Linked DNA regions of Homo sapiens: region 1 is linked to region 2. The links are contacts of gene promoters, found by promoter capture Hi-C in human tissues and cell types (Jung and others, 2019). All regions are on one chromosome and are shown on one strand. The core of a region is centred on a gene start or on the middle of the fragment in contact, and the rest is flanking DNA. Distances in the headings are between cores, read along the strand shown.

What was found. Contacts are between HindIII fragments. The study calls those that stand out against the background at their distance.
Region 1: the fragment with the promoter of HIPK2 here is called in contact with the fragment with the promoter of UBN2 in region 2 in 2 of the 25 tissues and cell types used here (heart right ventricle and thymus).

Annotation. Positions count from the first base shown.
Region 1 is chr7:139,776,748-139,781,310 of GRCh38, reverse strand. HIPK2 (homeodomain interacting protein kinase 2) reads left to right here and starts at 3,313. Exons shown (of 15, transcript NM_022740.5): 1 at 3,313-3,706. The coding sequence starts at 3,688. It also overlaps a transcript of TBXAS1 not described here. RefSeq lists silencers at 2,968-3,197, 3,628-3,717. The HindIII fragment of the contact is 11,506 bases long and covers 11-4,563 here.
Region 2 is chr7:139,229,491-139,234,257 of GRCh38, reverse strand. UBN2 (ubinuclein 2) reads right to left here and starts at 3,021. Exons shown (of 18, transcript NM_173569.4): 1 at 2,306-3,021. The coding sequence starts at 2,773. RefSeq lists silencers at 1,805-2,064, 2,011-2,230, 2,441-2,690 and enhancers at 2,861-3,000, 3,081-3,240. The HindIII fragment of the contact is 19,376 bases long and covers 1-4,767 here.

The DNA of each region.
Region 1 (4,563 bases), core at 2,064-4,563, 550 kb before region 2:
ACCTTGCTGCCACTTGACTGCAGTCACCGGAAGGAAAGGAGACAATTAGTATACTCAGTCTGCCAATTCATGAAGGAAAATCTAAGCTCATTTCAAGAATATTTTTCCGTTATATCATACGAACTTCGCTAGCTCAATTGAATGCATGTTTTGCATCTCATGGATACAGCTTCAGTCATGGTGGTCTGAAGAGAAGGTGGACCTCTGTCTGTATGGCTCCATCTTGTTCCCCTTCCATGGGACTCTATTTCCTTGCCCAAGATTGTTCCCTTCTTATGGGGAGGAGACTACCTGTAAAATGTTTTCGGTTGACACAAGTGATATTCATTTTAAGACTGCCTAGAATCACTCACTGCTAGACAGCAGCTGGGATGGACTTAGAGGCAGTTACTGAACACTGGTCAGTGCTGAATTCAGGGGCAGTCCTATAAAGCAGGGCCTTGCTCCAAGACGCTGCCAATCCAGTTATGAACACAGGGTACCTACACAGAAGACAAGAGTCAGCCATCTAGGGTGCGGGTATGCTGTGGACAACAGAGTGTGAGCAACAGGCAGGAAATGTTCTGTGAGCCTAAGGAAAGATGAGACAAAAGTCAGTGGGGCTGGTCAGAGGGAGGAGTTAGAATAATAATAACTTTTATTGAACCCCTACTATGTGTCTGCCCTCTATATAAAACTCTCTCTCTAATCTAACCCAGCCTCAGAGGCTGTGATGAGGACTATATGAAATGCCTTTTATCGAGTTTGTAGTGTTGTGCTGGACACAAGGGAGCATGCAACAAATTGCAGCTATCATCCATTCAACAAATATGTGTGCAGTACTCACCATGCGTTAGGCAATGCAGTTATTGGACATACAATCCAAAACAAGAAAAACATGGTTTCTGTCCTTACTGAGCTTACAGTCTAGAGACACCTTGTCCAAAATGGTAGCCACTAACCACCCATGGTTATTAAAATTAAAAATTCAGTTCCTCAGTCATACTAGCCACATTTCATGTGCTCCACAGACATAAGTAGCTACACTGCCATTATGGCAGCAAGTTCTAATGGCCAGCACTAGAAAGGGGCAGAGAGACATGCATGTAGGGTATGTATTAACAGGGAGTTACATACCTGTGTGGTGAAGGCTATGATAGAGATTTACAGATGCAAAAGGAGAACATTACTATTGTTCTCCTTCTCATAATCAAAATACAGACACTGAGGCTCAGAGAGGTTAAGCATTTTGACCAAGATCACATAGTTAAGTGGAAGAGCTAGGATTTGAACCTAGGTCTGACTTACTCCCACGCTATCTCGGGCTGTTTTGTGGAGGAGGTGAGCCAGGCACAGGTAGAATCTGCTTAAAGAGAGAAGATGGAGAAGGTACCCCTCTGGGAAAGTGGGTGGGAAAGTGACCGCTTGGGCAAAGGCACAGTGACAGAGATGGGTGAAGCTGGCACTGGGCTACAAGTAAACCAGTTTGGCTAGAGAAGCAGTGACTTGCTGAACTCATGTCCTTAGAAAGCTAAGTCAGGACTCGCCTGCCTTGATGAAAAGCCAAGGCACTCAGCCCCACCTGCAGAGGTTGAGTCCTTAGAGGATGTTAGCCAGGAGCGTGGCATGGCCAGAACCACGTATTATGAAGATGGCAATATTTAGGATGACCTGGGCCAAGACTAAAGTTAAAGATTGCAGGGAGGATAGAAGGGAAGGAGATAAATGACCGGTGTGGAGCAAAAAACACTAGAGTGGGAGCCACGAGACCTATTCCTAAGCTTCAATACTGTGTGACATTGGGCAACAGATTTTACTTCTCTGGACTCCATTTCTTCAACTCTAAAAGGGCAGGGCTGGCCCAGATGACCTCTGAGGTCCTTTTAGCAACAGTAGTCTAGGATTCTGCAAACGTGAATGGCATTAGGTTAAGAGAAGGGATAGGAAGTGTAGCATTGATTATGGGGGCAAGGAAGACCGCAGAGTACAAGATCACACAGAGGAAGGTGTCGTGATGTACCACTAAAAAAGTGTGAAAGAGCTTGCCTTTTTTGGGAAGGACTGAAGGATGGGAACGGAGGATGGAGACCGGAAAGGATAAGAAGTAGTGAGAAAATCACGAGGTTGTTTTTAAGAAAGTTATACAGTGTTAGAGATCATTATTTTACACAGATAGCTTTTCAACTTTTTTAAACCCACGATTCACAGACGGAAATAAAATTGACATCATGGTCCAGTACACTTGTCCAGTACCTATAATCGAAACAAAAGGTTTATGAAACAATAGTTGCCCTTACTAAGGGCAATGGACTCTAATATTTTCTATTGGATTCCATTTCGTTCTTTTTGAAAGCTGGTTGCCTTCCGCTGCATTTATTTTATGATCTATTACTGTGTCACGACCCACAGTTTTAAAAACAGTGCCTAAGAGGAGACTCAACAAGTCTTCCTAAGTTGGAGGGGATGGCAGGGCATCCTATCCAAGCATCCGGGAGGCAGCTGGAGAAGCAAACCTGGAGAGGCTCCCGGCTGGGGAGAGTCTGGAGAGTGTTTAGCGGAAGCCCTGATAGGAGAGAGCGCTGAGAAAAGCGAGGACCCAGAGAGTTGTGAGCTCCCATTCAAGTGATGGAGTGGCGGCCCTCGGGACAGTGTAGACGCGAGGAGGAGAAGATCAGGGTGGCGTGGAAGCCAGACTCCGGCAGGAACCCAGCGACCACCCCGGGGGCTGCATTTCCGCGGCGTGCACGGCAGGGCTTCGGTGCCTCTGACCTCGTGTGGCTTTCCGAAGCTCCTCCACTCACCCGCCCTCCTCCGGAGCACGGCGCGCGCCCACTCCTTCATTCATTCATTCCACTCCTACCTCCGCGAGCGCCAACCGGCTGTGAGATGGGCGAGCCACTTTGCCAGCGTGGGGCTCTCTTTCGGGTCGGTTCCCTCCCCGCCAGCACACGCGCGAACCCTCGCACCTGGGCACACACGCGCGCGCGTGCACACACACACACAAAGTTCTGGGGGCCCCTCTGCAGACCGGCTCGGCTGCGCTGGGCTCGGAGCCGTGCGCCCGCCGGGTCCAGGCCGGCCCTCTCACCCACTACCCGGGGCCCGCCCTGCGCCCAGTCCCCCCGCGCTGCGCGGCAGCCCCTCCCAGCGCGGTCCCCTCGGGCCGCCGGCGCGGCTCTGCCCTTCGGTTCGGCCTTCCCCGCCTCGCATCCGTGCCATCGGCGCTCGATTGCGCGCGGACTCCCTGTGGCTCTCCCGGCCCCGCGCCCCGCCCCCGCCCCCGCCCGCCGCCCCCCTCCGCCAGCAACTTTTGCGGAGCCCCCGCGCCCAGCCATGCTGAGCTGAGCCCCGCCGGCCCTGGCCGCGCGCTGCCCCCGGCTCCCGCCCCTCCGCGGATCCGCTCGGGGGCCGCGGCCGCTCGGCGCCTCGGCCTCGGCCGCTCCGCCCGCCCGGCCGCCCCGAGCCCCGAGCCCCGAGCCCCCCGCGCCGGGCCCGGGCGGCAGCGGCGGCGGCGGCGGCGGCGGCGCGCCCGGCCCCCTCCCCCGGCGCCGGCCACGGGAGGCGGTGATGCGGGCGCGGGCGGCCTCGGCTGCGCCGAGAGCGGAGACACAGGCTCAAGATGGCAGATTCCGACTGAGGCTGGGGGGGCCGAGCTCGCGCGCCGCTTTCCCGTCCCCGTTGCCATGAACCGCGGACACCCCGGCCCCGATGGCCCCCGTGTACGAAGGTAAGGGGCGCCCGGCCCCGCCGACCCCGCGCCCGCCGCCCTCCGCGGCCCCCGCAGCTTTGTTCTGCCCGCGGCCCCGCGCCCGCAGCCCCCGGCGCCTGCCCCAGCCCCCACCCGGGGCCCGAGGGGGCCGCGACCCCCTCCCTCGCCCGGAAGATGACCGGGACCCGGCGCCGGCAGGGTCTTGCTTCCAGGGCGGGGAGAGGGGCCGGGGGCGCAGGAGGGGAGGGGGCGTGTGCGAGGGTGGGCGGCTGCCCGGGGAGGGCAGGGACGCCGGGGAAGGCGGACCGGTGACTGTGCTTTTTATTTATTTGCGATAAATGAAGGTGATGCGGCTTAGCTTCCACCGCCCCCCCACATTACCTTTCGGAGCACCTCCTTTCCACTTCGCTCTCCGCCCCGCGCCCCTTCCCATTTCTTTCCGCGCCCACCCCACGCTCCTTTATTCTCCGCGAGCCTCCGATTTTGGGGGGGCTGTGGAATCGGAATGCACGGGGCTAGGTGGGGAGAGAGGAGAGAGATGAAAAGTCCATGTCAGAGCCAGGCAGAACAATGAAATAGGCGAAAATCTCCCCTCATTAGCGTGTGGAAGGGGACGTGGACTTTGGGTTTTCCAGCCGGGGGAGCGGCGGAGACGTTTTTCTGGCTCGGTCTGGGTCGATCTGTGTTGTGCACCTTCACCTGGCATCGGGGTATTTTTCCCCATTTGACTGCCTTTAGCAAGAAAGAAAAGAACGCAAGGCAGAAAAGCAGTAGGTCTGCCTCGCACACTGTCTTTCGTTTCTCTTCAGTCCGTTCTGTCAGCTTCCAGCCAGAAAGCAACCCAGAATCAACTAAGTTTTTACACTTCGATGTGT
Region 2 (4,767 bases), core at 1,772-4,271:
CTAAAATCTTATTTAGTGATAGATGGCTATTTCAAAAATGTGGAGCCCTTCCTTTTCTAATTCTTCTAATTTTGGGAACCACCAACTTTCCAGACCAATTCTAATGTTCGCATTTTGCTTTTTGATGGTCTCTCTTCTAGGATTTCCTTTCATGAAACCATGACAATTTTACTTAAACATATGTTTTCTATGCTTTCTTGCATAATAAGGATATACACTGGCAGCAATCACAGGAAAATGTGGCAAATCTTTGTTGCAAAGGTGATTATATACAATGGATTTTGTTTTGTTCAGAGGTATATGAAAAAAATAGAAGGTTGATATACGAGATAATTGGGCCAATAGACACCTATACTGTTAATAAGTATACAGAAAAATTAAATGGAATTTTTCCTCTTTCTCCTATTGCATGAAAGTAGTAGTTCTGGTGTTATCAAGTTAACAAAGCTAGGGTGTCAAACCTTTTTCTTTTTATAATTAAATGATACACATTATTAATTTGCCATCGTGTGAATATTACAGCATAAACAGAGACATAATAAAGGTCTTTGTATTTCTACTGCGACTTACATTTTACGTCATTTTGGCAGAATCCTCTAAACTATATGAGTTAATTTTAAGAAATTTTGTTTTACTAACAAATTGTATCACTATGGAAAGAAGTACTAATAAAATTACATACATTTGTAAAGTGAGGATAATAGTTTTTACCTCGTGGAGTTCTGTTGGACTACTAGAAAAACCATGTGCAGTGCTTAGAACTGTGTCTAGCACACAGTAAGAACCAGTAAATGTCGTTATTGCTATGTATTTTTATCCAAAGATAATGCTTTTCTCCTGTAATTTATGAAAATTACAAAAACTGCAAACCAACTTAGATTAGCAGCTCAAATACAATGTTTGAAAAATGCTCCAATCCAATATTTTTAATATTCTTTTGGGAAAAAAGTGACCTCAGATTTATAAAGAAGGGGCATTCAAGTGAGTCTGACGAGCAAAATGTTAGGTGGAAGTGACCAAAATGATCTCTACCTTTAAACAATTCATTTTGGTTGAAAACATTTTGTAATGATTTGACCACATAACATTTCTAAATAATGATCAAAACATTAGCTGGCCATGAAGTAAACAAAACCTAGTGAAATTGTTCAACATGATACTTTGTGACTAAGCAGTCAGTCATTTTGACCATAAAGGTAGTTGAAGATGAAAACAAAACAAGGGACTTCTGGAGTCCATTAGACTCAAGCTAAAGCAAAACCTAATAACGGGTATAATTGCTAAGCAACAGAGAAAACTGTTCTCTTTCCTTACTGTTAATCTATCATTTCCTTTTCTAACTTACTTCTGAAGATCCACCAACCCACAACAATAAAAATTACAATTACGAACATAACCCCTATCCTTTCTCCATTGTTCACCTCTTACATCAAAAGCATACCTATATATTTTCAATTATTTTAAAAAATTCAAAGCTGACATTTTTTTCATCATCCTCCGAAAATTACAAAGGCTGAATACAATATCCTTCTATAAACTAATGATAGTACACTTAAATAATATGACGGGTAGGTGTCAAATAAAACAGGAGACACCTTCCCATTCAATTACAATATGAACGAACTCCACAAAAAAGGAAAGCTAAAAAGGTTTTCCAATACCAACACGAGAGAAAAATTAGTAACCAGATTAACTAACCCACTTCTCCATTCCTAAAGTGGGATCCTTAGTCTCTGAAAACCTTTAATTATTCTTAAATTCCCTTCGATTAAGAAAAATATCACAGGCACGCAAGCACACCTCAGCAGCCACGGCGCCCAGCAAAACAAACAGTGATGAGGATGAGGATGATACGAGAGGGGTTACACAATCTCTGCTTCAGACTGGGGGGCGTGTCCCCCAAGGTTTTCTCTTCCTTTCTACTGGAACGACAGCTGTAGCGCCACAGGGAGAACCCAGCCACACGGCCTGCAGGGCCCCAGGATTTTGTGTGGGGAGCAGAAAGGAAAGAAGGAAAATCTGAGGTTCCGAAAGGTGCACAAGAAAACGAGCTCGGCGCGGCGTTGGGAGCGAGTGCCGGGGGTTTGGGGATTCGGCGCAGCCGGGTGAGAGCCTCGGCCACCCTGGGGAGTGGAGAAAGCAGCGCTCACCGCCCCGTCCACCCGCTCGGCCCCGGCCCCCCGCACCCCACCCTCGGGGCGACCCGGACGCGCTCGGTGGGCGTCCCAAGGTGCAAACCAGCTGGGGAAGGCGGCGGGTCCTGAGGCTCCCGGGGTCTGGGGCAGGAGGGAAGAATCTTCTGTACCCGTTGTTCTCCGCACAGCAGCAGCTCCGGGTAACTGAACTCCACGCAGCTCTCGTCGGTGGGGTCCTTAAGCACCAGCTCCAGGCGCACCGTCTCCCTCGGCGGCCGCGGCGGCTGCTCAGCCCGGGAAGCCGACTCCCGCGGCGGGGGCGGCTGCAAGGGCAGCGGCGGGAACGGCGGCGGCGGCTCGGGCCGCGGGGGCTCCCGCTGCAGCGACATGGGCGGCTCGGCGCGGCTGACCTCGCGCTGGGGGAGCGGCTTCTCCCGCGACGGGGGCTGCGCGTCCGAGCGGGGGGCAGGCTCCCGCGGGGCCGGCGGCTCCGCCCGGGCCGGCTCGCGGTACGGCTGCGGCTCCAGCCGGGGGGGCTCGCGGGGGTACTCGGGCTCACGCTCGGGCCCCGGGTACTCGGCCTCGCGCCGCCGCACCGGTGACAAGCTAATGAACGCTACTCTGCGCGGCTCCGCCATCCCCACTGTTCTGGCCCTCCGCTTTTGCTCGAGCCGGCGCTCGCTTCTACGGCGCGCTGCGTGCCTGCCCGCCCTTCCTCTTGCTCTCTGTCGCTTTTCTTCCCTCCACCACCCTCAGCCGTCTCCGCCGGCGCCACGGTGAGTGCGGACCGTGTCCCCTTCCCCGCTACTACGTTCTGATGGGCTTCACCGCCATCGCCAGGGTCGCCGCGGCCGCCATGTTGGATCCCCCACATAAATAGAAGCAGGCCGCTGAGCGGGCGCATGCGCACAGAGGAGACGCTCGCGTCCACTGTCGTGGCTGTTGCTCAGTTTTCCTCTTTTCCTCCCAACAGTCTGGAGTCCAGACAGGTCGGCGGAAGTGACGACATGGCTCGGCCTGTTTCCGTGGAAACGGAGACGCCGTCTGCACCCTTCCTCAAAGGGAGGGTTCTGGGGTTTCCCGAGCAGTTTACTATTCGCACCCGGAAACCAGAGGCGCTCCAGGAGCTTCCCGGGGCTAGCATCGGGATGGGACTGAGACCGACCTAGCCATTGGCGCCGGGTCTCCCGTGCTGGGTTCAAGGGAATTGGGGTTGTTAGCTGATTATTCAAGGCGGACTCTGGGCAAGGGTAGAGAGACGCGCCAGCCGTTGTGCCTGCCCGCCCTGTGTCCCCGTAGCCTTAAGTATCGAGGGAAAAAAGGAAGTGCCCAGCTTCAGCCAGACTAGCCCCAGCGGCTTCCCTCCCGAAAGCGCAGGCCTCCCCTTCCTCGACCTACTCCGGTTTCCCTCGCCCGGCCGCAGTGGGCGTTGCGTGGGGCAGGGTCATTAAATGTTCAATAACGCTTTGCAGTTGGAAAATTAACAAGCAGATGAGGAGTTCTGGGCTCATTCAGAAGGCCTAAACTGCTGAAATCATAGAAAACTTCTTAAGAGGGTTTAGTGGTATTTCAGGAAACGTACTGTTTATGAGAATGCTAAAGGACCCATTTCAGGATGGGGAAGGAATTGATTGGGCACGCCCCATAGGCTCACTTGTAATTAATTAATTGGAAGTCGGGTTTAAAAGGATAAGAATTACTGGCCATTTTAATCCATTGAATAAAAAGTAAATTTGAGGGCTCGCCCTTCACATCCTGAAGGGAATCCAAGCCTTCTGTTAATTGCATTAACTATTGAAAGCTCTTTTATTAAGTCAGTGTGACGTCATTGACAAATTCTGAGAGGGTTCCGTTTTTTCCTCTCCTGTTATTACTTTCCCTACTTGGACGAAGATGGTGATGAAATCTATGATTCCAAAGGTCTCTCCCAGCTCTAAAACCCTATCTTTTCTACTCGGCGCCATGTTTTACCTACATTATCTCCTTCCCTATTGCTCCTTTTCTGATTCTGAATTCGGGTCTCATTTTTAGATTGCCTTAGTGATACTTAAATGACCTTTCTGCCTTCAGTCTCTGTTCCCACCAGTCTTGAGACGGGGTCATATTAATGTCTCTAAAAGAGTTTTTATTATATCGTTCTCTGTTCTGGCTGCAACTTACCTACAAACTGAGTTCTATGTATGTATACTCATATTCAATATCCTCCACAATTTAGCTCAGAGACTGCAAACTGGTGGTCTGTGGGCCAAATCCTTCTACAGGTGTGTTACTTATCCAACATTATCTTCTAACTTCTCACCCACTGAGTTTTCCAACTTTTTGATCCATAACCCACAGTAAGACATTTTACACTGTAACCTAGAATATACACCCATATATACATAACACATATGTGCATATGTGAAATATAAGTTTCACAATACTTACCTACTGCTTAGGATAAAGTAAAAGCAACAGACGCAACAGAGTTAATTTAATATAAAATATTTTATAATACAGTGTAGAAAAAAATGTTAACATCATATAGAAGCAAATTAGGAAAGATTTTATTTAATGCCATGGAAGTTCTTGCCTGATCATAGGTTTATTGCACTCCAGAATTCATTAGGACAGTGGTACATGAACATCTGAT